Linked DNA regions of Homo sapiens: regions 2 and 3 are each linked to region 1. The links are contacts of gene promoters, found by promoter capture Hi-C in human tissues and cell types (Jung and others, 2019). All regions are on one chromosome and are shown on one strand. The core of a region is centred on a gene start or on the middle of the fragment in contact, and the rest is flanking DNA. Distances in the headings are between cores, read along the strand shown. Region 1 holds the start of PLLP (plasmolipin). Region 2 has its middle 16 kb from the start of DOK4. Region 3 overlaps COQ9 (coenzyme Q9).

The links. The method cuts DNA at HindIII sites, captures the fragments that hold promoters and counts their contacts. A contact is called where the count stands out against the background at its distance.
Region 2: a contact is called between a fragment that was not itself captured here and the fragment with the promoter of PLLP in region 1, in 1 of the 25 tissues and cell types used here (bladder).
Region 3: a fragment that was not itself captured here is called in contact with the fragment with the promoter of PLLP in region 1 in 5 of the 25 tissues and cell types used here (dorsolateral prefrontal cortex, hippocampus, mesenchymal stem cells and 2 more).

Annotation. Positions count from the first base shown.
Region 1 is chr16:57,282,951-57,286,705 of GRCh38, reverse strand. PLLP (plasmolipin) reads left to right here and starts at 2,034. Exons shown (of 4, transcript NM_015993.3): 1 at 2,034-2,300. The coding sequence starts at 2,166. RefSeq lists a silencer at 1,841-2,250 and an enhancer at 2,295-2,956. The HindIII fragment of the contact is 17,750 bases long and covers 1-3,755 here.
Region 2 is chr16:57,500,726-57,504,480 of GRCh38, reverse strand. No RefSeq gene overlaps it. Among named protein-coding and RNA genes, the nearest start is that of DOK4, 16 kb to the right of the region's middle. The HindIII fragment of the contact is 9,526 bases long and covers 1-3,755 here.
Region 3 is chr16:57,453,054-57,456,285 of GRCh38, reverse strand. All of the region lies in intron 3 of COQ9 (coenzyme Q9), which reads right to left. Among named protein-coding and RNA genes, the nearest start is that of COQ9, 7.2 kb to the right of the region's middle. The HindIII fragment of the contact is 7,285 bases long and covers 1-3,232 here.

The sequences.
Region 1 (3,755 bases), core at 785-3,284:
AATTTAAAAAAATTAGTCAGGGCTGGGCCCAGTGGCTGATGCCTGTAATCCCAGCCCTTTGGGAGGCCAAGGTGGGCGGATCACAAGACCAGCCTGGCCAACATGGTGAAACCCAGTCTCTATTACAGATACAAAAAATTAGCTGGGCATGGTGGCTCGAGCCTGTAATTCCAGCAAGACTCCATCTCAAAAAAAAAAAAAAATTAGTTGGGCATGGTGGCGTGCACCTGTAGTCCTAGCTACTAGGGAGGCTGAGGTGAGAAGATCACTTGAGCCTAGGGGTTGGAGGCTGCAGTAGGCTATGATCATGCCACTGCCCTCCAGCCTGGGTGACAGAGTGGGACCTCGCCTCAAAATAAATAAAAGTAAAAAGAAAAAAATACCAATATTGTACATTTCTTTTCTTTTTTTGTTTTTGTTTTTAGATGGAGTCTGGCTCTGTCACCCAGGCTGGAGTGCAGTGGCATGATTTCAGCTCACTGCAACCTCTGCCTCCCTGGGTTCGAGTGATTCTCCTGTCTCAGCCTCCTGTGTAGCTGGGACTACAGGCACCCACCATCATGCCTGGCTAATTTTTTTGTATTTTTGTAGAGACAGGGTTTTGCCATGTTGACCAGGCTGGTCTCAAACTCATGACCTCTGGTGATCTGCCTGCCTTGGCCTCCCAAAGTGCTGGGATTATAGGCGTGAGCCACAGCGCCTGGCCCTAATATTGTATATTTCAAAATATGGTAGCTAGAAGTGGGGATTTTGAATGTTCTCACCCCAAAGAAGCCATAAATGTATGAGGTGATGGATATGCTAAGTACCTTGATTTGATTTTTTTACACAACGTACACAGGTACCAAAACATCACATGGTACCCCATATTTAGGTACAATTATAGGTTGCCGAAAAAGTAATTGCGGTTTTTGCTATACTTTTATATGCAAAAACCGTATAACTTTTGCACCAACCTAATATTACATGTCAGTTAAAAACAATTTTTTAAGTGGCTCTCTTTTTAAGTGGGTATTTGGGAAAAAAAAAATGTGGGAGCCAAGAAGGCCTTGTCTACTTCGTTTCCTGCTGTATCCACAGGGCCTGGCATGTAGTAGGTGTTCAGCAAACATTGGTTGATGAATGCATGATGACCTATCTGTGCAAACCTCTAGGCTCAAGAGGTGTGTGTGTGTGTGTAAGTATTTTAGGGTGCATGTGTGGCAATGAAACTGTATATGACCTCCCATCTTCTGAGTGACCCCTCCTCCCTCACGCTGTCAGGAGCTTTCTGGGGAATATTTCATTTATTCCCTACAACGCTCTGTGAGGCAGGTTTCCTTCGTATCTATATGACAGACGAGGAAACTGAGGCTCCGCGATCATCTAAGTTATATAAAATATGTTCAGAAGTGAAAACAGCATTAATAGGCAGAAAAGGACCTCCCCCTTCTACCGCTTACCCACCGCTTACCCAGACCCTCCCCTTCCCCGCGCTGGGTCTCCCAGGATTCTTCTTTACTTTCTTTTCTATAAAATACAGACGGGGGGAGGGGGGGCGTCTCACTGTGTTACCCAGGCTGGTCTCGAACTCTTGGCCTGAAATTATCCTTTCACCTTAGCCTCCCAAAGTGCTGCGATCAGAGGCAGGAGCCACCGCATCCAGCCTTCTCCCGGGACTCTTCAAGAGTCGCTGCGCCGGGGCCTAGGCCGAGGGTGCACAGCGCGTAGAAAGCGCCTGGGAGAGCGGTGTCCCCCGCGAGCTACCACAAGTTTATCCCTAGGCGCGGAAGCTACCACGGCCTGGGCGAGAGCCGGGAAATTCCCAGCGGGCGGCTTGCCCCGGGGGAGGCCGGCGAAGCGGTCTAGGCTGGTGCTGGCGGAGCCGATTCACGGACCCGGGGTTGTTTACTGGTCCGGGGAGTGGACGCGGCTGCCCACGAACCGGTCGCGGCTGGGGCGGCGGCGGCGAGCAAAGGGTTAAGGGGGCGGCCCCGGCGGCGGGGGCGGAGCCGGGATCTCGGCCGCACCTGGCGCCCCAGGCTCCCAGCCCCGACGCCTCCTGCAGCGCCTGGAGCCACACAGGGATCCGGAGCCTGGGGGAAAAGCGGCGCGGGAGCCGGCACCCACCGCTGGAGGGGCGGCGACGGCGGCCGTAGCGACCTCGGGAGGCAAGCGGAGCCGCCATGGCCGAGTTCCCGTCGAAAGTTAGCACGCGGACCAGCAGTCCTGCGCAGGGCGCCGAAGCCTCGGTGTCGGCGCTGCGCCCGGACCTGGGCTTCGTGCGCTCCCGCCTCGGGGCGCTCATGCTGCTGCAGCTGGTGAGAGCACGCGCGGGCCCACGGGGTTGGCCGGGGGCTCCCGGTCCGGCCAGGATGGGTGAGGGACTCCGGCGCTGCGTTCATTTTTCGCGAACCTTGCGCTCCCCACCCGGGCTCACACTGTCACCGACGCGCTGCGCGTACCCCTAGGGCGCTTCCCGCACGGACGCCCCCAAGATCGCCCTGCATCCCTCTCACCACGACACTACCCCGTGGCCGTCGCTGCGAGCGTGAGCACCCTGCACCGTGTACAGAGTGCCCACTGCCCGTGCCCCATCGTGCCCCCTCCAAGGTGGTTACCAGCGGCCACAGAAGCCCCCACCGGAGCCACAGTCACTGCGCACAACCCGCCAACCCTTCCCAGCCCTCCCTTCCCTCCTCTCTCTTTTTCACCCCTCTTTCTGCCCGGACAGTGCCCCCAGCCCTCTAGGGAACCCAGTCTGAGGCAAAGTCCACTCTCTGACCACCTTCTGTCCCGCTCCCAGCGGCTCCGGGTGGCCGCACCCATGAACATTCCTCATCTAATCTAGAGGGCACATCCGACTCCCCAACACGCACACTCAGGCACTACCCTGTGGGCGCCCGCGCGGGAGCCGGGCTCTTCTAGCTTTCTCTGGGTGACCCGCCAGGTTTCAGCCGGTTTAGCCAGCCCCACGGGACCGAGATATCGCTGGAGGGAGGGGTTTGTGGGTAGCCAGGGGCAAGACTCCTACTCTCTCCCAGACCCCTGTACAGACCCCAACTGAGGCGGACCCATGGGAACATCCTCCACTCCCACACCAGCCACAGGCCCGGATGTTAGCTTCTTCCTCTGCCACCCTTTCGTGAGGGTCTGGAAGCTGGGTGGGTGCCCTGGGTGGGTGAGGGCCTGATACATTTTCAGAGGACTCAGGTGGAATTGGAGTTGGGCCAGGACCTGTATTTCTTAGCAATCCAGCGAGTGGACATTTCCCATTGTCTCCTATTGCTGGGTGCTAGCGCTGCTGCGAGGCCCAAGCTAGAGGGCAGGGTGGTTGCTTTGGTGCCAGACCCTGGGCTGAGGTCCAGTCTCCCTTCCCTGACCTCTCCAGGTGCGGGCCCACCTCTACCTGGGTCAGTGCTATCTCATTTCAGGATTTCTCAGATCTCTGTGGGCCCCCTCCCCAACCTCTGAATCTCCTGGCGGGTTTGTTTAAAATTTAGATTATTGGACTCCACCCCCGGAAAAAAATGTGCAATCGGAATTTGAATCTCAGGAAGTACAGCCAGAAATTCATTTTTAACAGTTCTCCCAGAGTTTTTTGTTTGTTTCTCTTTTGGGGGGTGGGGGAGAAGGGGAGAAGATTCTGTCTTCTGAGGGAAGAGGTCTAGTTCCTGGAATCATTTAATTCTGCAGATGGGGAGAGCCACTGACCCCGCCACCGCTAGAATGCTCTGCTCTGGGCTGGTTGTGAGGGGCACAGCCATGAGCAGCTG
Region 2 (3,755 bases), core at 855-3,354, 220 kb before region 1:
GTTTTTTGAGAGGAAATTCAAAGATGCAGTGCTATTAAAAATTGATATTTCAATGAGATAATCCCTCTCCTAGGCTTTTAATTGATTGTCTAAAAAGCCTTCCTCTGTTGTTGTGCTTCTTTATTTGCAGGGACCATTAATTTTTTTATGGACGATCAAACCCAGATAGGGTGGAGGGGCTACCGCACGGCTGATTCAAAAACAGTAACAGAGGCGCCAGGAAGGAACATCTGGGGTCTGGCCATGGAGCTGGCCTTGGCTGTGGGTCCTGGCAGTGGGGGGGCTGACTCCCTTGAGGAAGGAGGGGAAGCTCCTATGCATCCAGGACACACACACACATACACACACACACACACACACACCCCTCTGCCCTCAGTCCCAAGGGACAGGCTTCGTAAAGGGAGGAGAAGGTGGAGGCTCAACAAGGGACTGGGGCAACAGGTCCCCCAACATCGAGGCAAAGCCCCATTCTGGGAGGTGGGACTCCTGGGTTTCTCCCTTGCCACTGGTGGCCAGTTCCCCATCCACTCCAGGCATTGGTCCCTTGCAGGACAGGGCTGGAGGTGGACAAGGAAGAACAGAGAAGAGGACTCAGGATTTCTAGATGCTGCCACTTCTCCCCTCTGGGCCTCAGTGGGGGTAACAGTGGCTCCAGTCTCAAGGGATGGCTCTTCAGGCCAAGCACAGCACCTGGCACCCATGAGTGTGCAGGAAGAGCTTCTGTTGCTCTCACTGTTGTTAATCTCAGCTTTCTTCTCCCGCTCCGCAGGCAGCAAATCCTTGCCACGCCAGTCCCTCCCACATGCTGGGCTTGCACGGCTTTGTGGCTGCAGAGGTGTTATGCGCGCACCTGTCTGCCAGGTCACCGGCCCCATCTGCTTCTACCGCATCTATCCACTCCATCAGCCTGACAGGCAGCCTCAAGGAGGCCCCAGAGGCTCTCCGGCTACCCGGCAGTGAGCCATGGCTGGGCTGGGCTGCTCCCCGAGCTGGCCTCCCACGCTTACCTCCTCTCTGCTGCTCCACGCCTGCAAGACCTCTTTTCTGGGAGGAAGAGACTTGCCAAGAAGGCCAGCTTCACGGTTGTGCGGGCAGCCTGTGCTGTCACTTTGGGCCCTACACTTCCGAGGGCCCAGGGCTTGGTTTAATGCTCTATTGTCACCCCTCGGCAATTTATTAATAATTTGTCGGCAGGGCACATATTCTTTTTGTACTGGGCCCCAAAAATGATGTGGCCAGTCTTGCTGCCACAGGACAATGCTGCTTCAGGAAATGGCCGCAAGGTGCATCCCCAGGGTAATGCCTATACCTTTAGGCCATGGACTGTCCCTGCAGAGGGTTGACCTAATCCCCACACCTTCCGTCTTCACCTTACCCAGGTCCTCCCAGCTGCTCAGTGCAGATGCCCTTCAGGGGATGCGCAAGTTTGTGGGGAATGACTTCTCCACGCATCGCTAAGTCTCAGACCCTGGGGAGGGGACTTAAGGGTATGGCAGGGGGGTCCCCAAACCCATATGTTCAGCAAGTCTCATCTGTGGACTGAGCAAATAATGTTTCACCCAAACAATTGTGACTCTTGTCAAGTGGAAGTTTGGAGTCCTCATAGCAGAGGAGGAACAAATTAATTTGAATCATCTGGGGAATTCCTAGTAGCCTTTGGTCAACATATTGGTCTTGGAAGGGTTTTTTTTTTTTTCAGGTACTGAATATTAAAGGTAAGACAGCTTTGACCTTATGGGCATCAGAAGATTTCCTCCATCGATGCCCACCCTCAGATGGGAACAGGGCAGGCTGGCAAAATGCAGCTGAAACAGTTCACTTTGAGAAATCTCTCCTAAGGAAGTCTGTAAGCACACATCATCTGTAAGTGCAGGCGCAAATATTTAGCCACACGAGTGCTCATTGTGGCATTGTTTACAAAAGCAAAAATAGAGACAGCTAAATGGCCGCAGTCAGGTACTGGTTAAATAAATGACAGTGTGTTTCTCCAGGGGTATGTCGGAGACTGTTGGTAAAATTCACCTTTTCCTGCGAAAGAAGAGGGAGTGAGTGAAAAATCAGTTTTGGAAAAAAGCATCCAACGTGGGCTTGGTTTTCTGTCTATATCTGTGGAGGCACTGAGACCATAGTGTTCGTCTCAGGGTCATTGTTTTTCTTCCTTCTTATCCTTGAGTGTCCTGGCTTCCAGTAGCCAATCACCAAGGAGTCAGGGACACTTGCCATTCTGAAGATCTCTCAGACCTCTTCAGAGCCACCAACCCTCTCACTACTCACCACCTCTCTCCTTCGAGACTTGCTCTTGCTTCCTGTCTTGCTCCCCCAGTTCCACTAGGCCCCCTCCATATGCTCTCTAAGGACAGCCAGAGGGATTCTTTCTCAAAATATAAACTGGGGCCGGGCGCGGTGGCTCATGCCTATAATCCCAGCACTTTGGGAGGCTGAGGCAGGTGGATCACTTGAGGTCAGGAGCTCAAGACCACCCTGGCCGACATGGTGAAACCCCATCTCTACTAAAAAAATACACAAATTAGCCAGGCATGGTGGCATGCGCCTATAATCCCAGCTACTCAGGAGGCTGAGGCAGAATTGCTTGAACCCAGGAGGCAGAGGTTGCAGTGACCCAAGGTCGCGCCACGGCACTCCAGCCTGGGCGACAGAGTGATACTCCATTTAAAAAAAAAAAAAAAAAGTCAATTGGATCTTATCTCCTGCTTCGTGTAAAACCCTTGACTGGCTCCCTGTTACTCTTAAGATAGAGCTGGAACCCTGGGACTGGCCTTCAAGACCCTGTGTCTGGCCTCTCCAAGCACGCACTTCCCCTCCTCACTGCACTCAGCCACCCTGGCCTCCTCCCAAGCCCATCTCCAGGCCAGGGTCTCTTCTGCCAAGGGGCCTTTACACGTGCAGTTCCCTCTACCCAGAACACTCTCCCTCTCTTCTTCACCAAGTTAACTAATCCTTTCACTTTCACCTTAAGGGTCCCTTCCTTAGGAAGCCTTCCCAGACAAATCAGGTCTCCCTGTATCTCTGTCTTTTGTTTTTTGTGTTTAGAGATAGGGTCTCTCTCTGTTGCCCAGGGTGGAGTGCAGTAGCATGATCTTGATTCACTGCAGCCTTGACTTCCTGGGCTCAAGTGATTTTCCTGCCTCAGCCTACCAAGTAGCTGGGGCTACAAGCACATGCCACCATGCCTGGTTAGTTTTTTTATATTTCCTTGTACAGACTGGGTCTCATTATGTTGCCCAGGCTGGTCTCGAACTCACAGCCTCAAGTGATCTTCCCACCTTGACCTCCCAAAGTGTTGGCATGAGCCACTGTGCCTGGCCCCCGTATCTCTTCTAGCACCCTATAGCTGTTTCCACTCCCTCTGCCCTTCTCACAGTTGCACTTGCTGGTCACTTGCACTACACCGTGAACTCCTCAAGGCCATGGACTCTTCCTGTGGAACACTGTGTCCCCAGTGCCCAGTGCCTGGCACAGAGTAGGTGCTCAGATGTTTGCTGAGTGGATCAATGAATCAGGGAGGGAGAGGAGGCTGGCCCAAGCACTTGGCCTCCCTTCGCTGCTGCCTGTCCAGGGAGCAGCTTGTCAGACCTGCTATTAGCATCTCACGCATGTGCTCAGGAAGGCAGTCCAGGGAGAACCCTGTGCGGGGAGGTGGGGCTGGAATGATGTCCCAAGCCTCCTTCCTGTGAGCTGCTCTCTGAGCCCATCAGAAATCGCCCCTCGCCCAGCCTCCTCAGGAGGAAGCTAAA
Region 3 (3,232 bases), core at 733-3,232, 170 kb before region 1:
CAGAGACTAGCTCAGGGATGAACATATCAACAGGTCTTCTTTCTTTTTTAGAAACTAAGCCTGCAGCTGCTTTCTCCAACTTTGCACCTAACACATCTAAGGCCAGTCCTTCCAACTGTTGTCCAGATCCCACAATTCTTGCCTTCAAGGAACCTCATCCTCTTGATTTTGACTATTTTCTCTTGTAAATTCACCCTCACTCTTGTTTCTTTCTTTTTTCTTTTTACTTTTTTTTTGAGACAGTGTCTTGCTCTGTCACTCAAGCAGTGGCATGACTGAGGCCTTGACCTCCTGGGCTCAAGCAATCGTCCCATCTTAGCCTGGGACCACAGGTATGCGCCACCGCATCTGGCTAATTTTTAAATGTTTTTGTAGAGATGGGGTCTCGCCATATTGCCCAGGTTGGCCTCAAACTCCTAGTGTCAAGCAATCCTCCCGCCTCAGCCTCCCCAAGTGCTGGGATTACACATATGAGCCTGGTCCACTCTTGTTTCTGTACTCTTCCCATTTGTGTTCAATCATGTCCAAACTTCCATCTGTTTCTCCTGCTTGGTGCACCCTAGTTCTACCCCTCGCAGCCAAACGCCTCGCCACTTCCTCGCCTTCTATGCACACCTCGATCCACTCCAGTTGATTTCTGATCCAGTTCTCCACCCAAACGGTTGTTGCCCCAGTAACCAATGTCTAGCTGCTTAATCCACACTCTCCTGCTTTGCCTCCAACATCAGGATGCTCTGACTTAGACTTTGACGGCCCATCCTATTCTACTCTCCCCTTAAATGTCCGCGTTCCTTGAGAGTCTGGACTCCCCTCTCATATGACATTATATTCTTGCCCTGGACAATCTCACTGACTTCCATAATTATTTTATATATATATATATATATAAAATCAGCGTGCATATATATACTGTATATATATATATATATGCCCAAATGTGTATCTCTAGTCCAGCTGTTTCCTCCAGTTCCTGACCTGTATGCTTGATGCCTCCACTGGTTGACTCAAAAACTCCTCATACTCAACAAGGATCAAGACTGTACCCTTCCCCAAAGCTGGTCCTCTTCCAATGGCCTTCACCTTAGAAAACACCACCATTGGGTACCCACACATGCAAACTTGCAACTCTGGTGCCATCCTGTCACTCTCTCCCATGTCCAAGCTATTCCTGAACTTACCCACTGCCATTACTCTAAGCCAGACCACCTCATCTCTCCTGTATGTCTGGCAGCAGCCCCCAATGAGTCTCTCTCTGCCTCCAATCCACTTTTCATCTGGCAGCCAAAATGAGCATTTTGAAATGCCAAATTTAATCCAATATCTTCAATTGTTCTTAGAAGAAAAGCTTGACTCCTCATCATGACCTTTAGGACCTTGCCTGATTTGACCTCGACTGACCTTTCCAGCCTTGCTCATCTCAAATCTCTCTTCCTGCACTCTCTGCATGGTGGTTCTCTGTGGTTCTTCTAACGTACCATCCTTCTTTTTCTTTCCACCTTGCCTGTGCAGTTTCTGTATTTGGACTTGTCCATCTCCTACCCACAAAGTCAGGTAAAGCCTATTCATTCTTCAATTCTCAGCTCAAAAGCCTTTCCTGACCACCCTGTTACCCACCTCATATATGGTTTCAGACAAGGTCTCACTCTGTTGCCCAGGCTGGAGTGCAATGGCATCATTATGGCTCACTGCAGCCTTGACCTACCAGGCTCAAGAGATCCTCCCACCCCAGCCTCCCAGGTAGCTGGGACCACAGGCAAGCACCACCATGCCTGGCTAATTTTTGTATTTTTTGTAGAGATGGGGTCTCTCCCTAGGTTGCCCAGACTGGTCCCAAACTGCTGGGCTCAAGCAATCCCTCTGCCTTGGCCTCCCAAAGTGCTGGGATTATAGGCATGCGCGACTGTGCCCAGCCCTCCAACCCTTTAATAGGACAAATTAGACTATTTGTCATAGTTTAACAGGCAACATGTTTTCTTTTTTTACTGATGTACTTAAAAATGGTGCTTCTTACAACCAATGGCATCTTAGAGTCAATGAAATATGGTAGTTTTGATCACAGACAATTCTTGCCAATAGGTTGCCTTTAGAACACAACTCTCAAGAACCAATTCCATGGTTCATTACTTTTATATCTACAAAATAAAGCCATTTCCACCCTATTGAGGGAAAAAAACCAGTCAATCTCGCAGCTGTGACCTGATCTAATGATCGGGTCCCTCCATTATACAGCCCAACAGCACCTTTCCTTGATAGCACTTACCACATCTTCTAAGTAAACATTTGTATATATTTTATTAATGTTGCTAGACTGGAAGCTCAACAAGGGCAGGAAGCAGATCCATCTTGACCACTTTGACCCCTGTCATGTCTCTTGGACTAGCACAGTGCCTAGGGCACATTATTTGCTCAATAAACATTTAAAGAATGAATCATATAAAGGGTTTTAATTGGAAAGATCTAGGCATAAATGTTGATAGTATGATCTTTGGTGTGATTATAGGTGTTTTCTACATTCTTTTTTATATTTGTTTGTATTGTTCAGTTTTCACAATGAGCCTACAGTGGAGTCAGAGCACCCACATTTCACTAATGAGACTTCTGTTACCAAATGTGCACTTGGGAGTGAGAGAAGACAAGGAAATAACAGTTAAATTTCAGTAAAGCAGCAACCTTGCCCATTGTCCATGGGTAGATGCCCTGCAGCAAGCCTGGGATGGAAGATGCAACTCTGTCATCCCCTCAGTCTCTTGGAGGATGGTATCTTGCTATGCTGGAGGATTCTCTACAACATGGCCTGAACATGAGCCTGCTGCCTAATCTAAAGCAGCAGTCTGTACTAATGCAGAAAATGCTATTAGAGTTTCTGGGAAAATAAGATGTGTTGGTCTCCAAAGTGGTGCCTTCTTGGGGGTTTTCAAACACCATATGTCATTAATTCTAAGATGCAGATATATTTTTCATTTTAAAAAATCAGTGTGAATCACAGAAGTGCTTTGTCATAGTTCGAAGGGCAGTATGTTTTCTTTTTTACTGATGCATTTAAAAATGATGCTTCTTACAACCAATGGCATCTTAGAGTCAATGAAACATGGGAGTTTTGATCACAGACAATTCTTGCCTAATAGATTGCCTTTAGAACACAACTCCCAAGAACCAACTCCATGGTATGTTCTTTATAACTACAAAATAAAGCCAGTTCCACCCTATTGGGGGAAAAAAACCAGTCAATCTT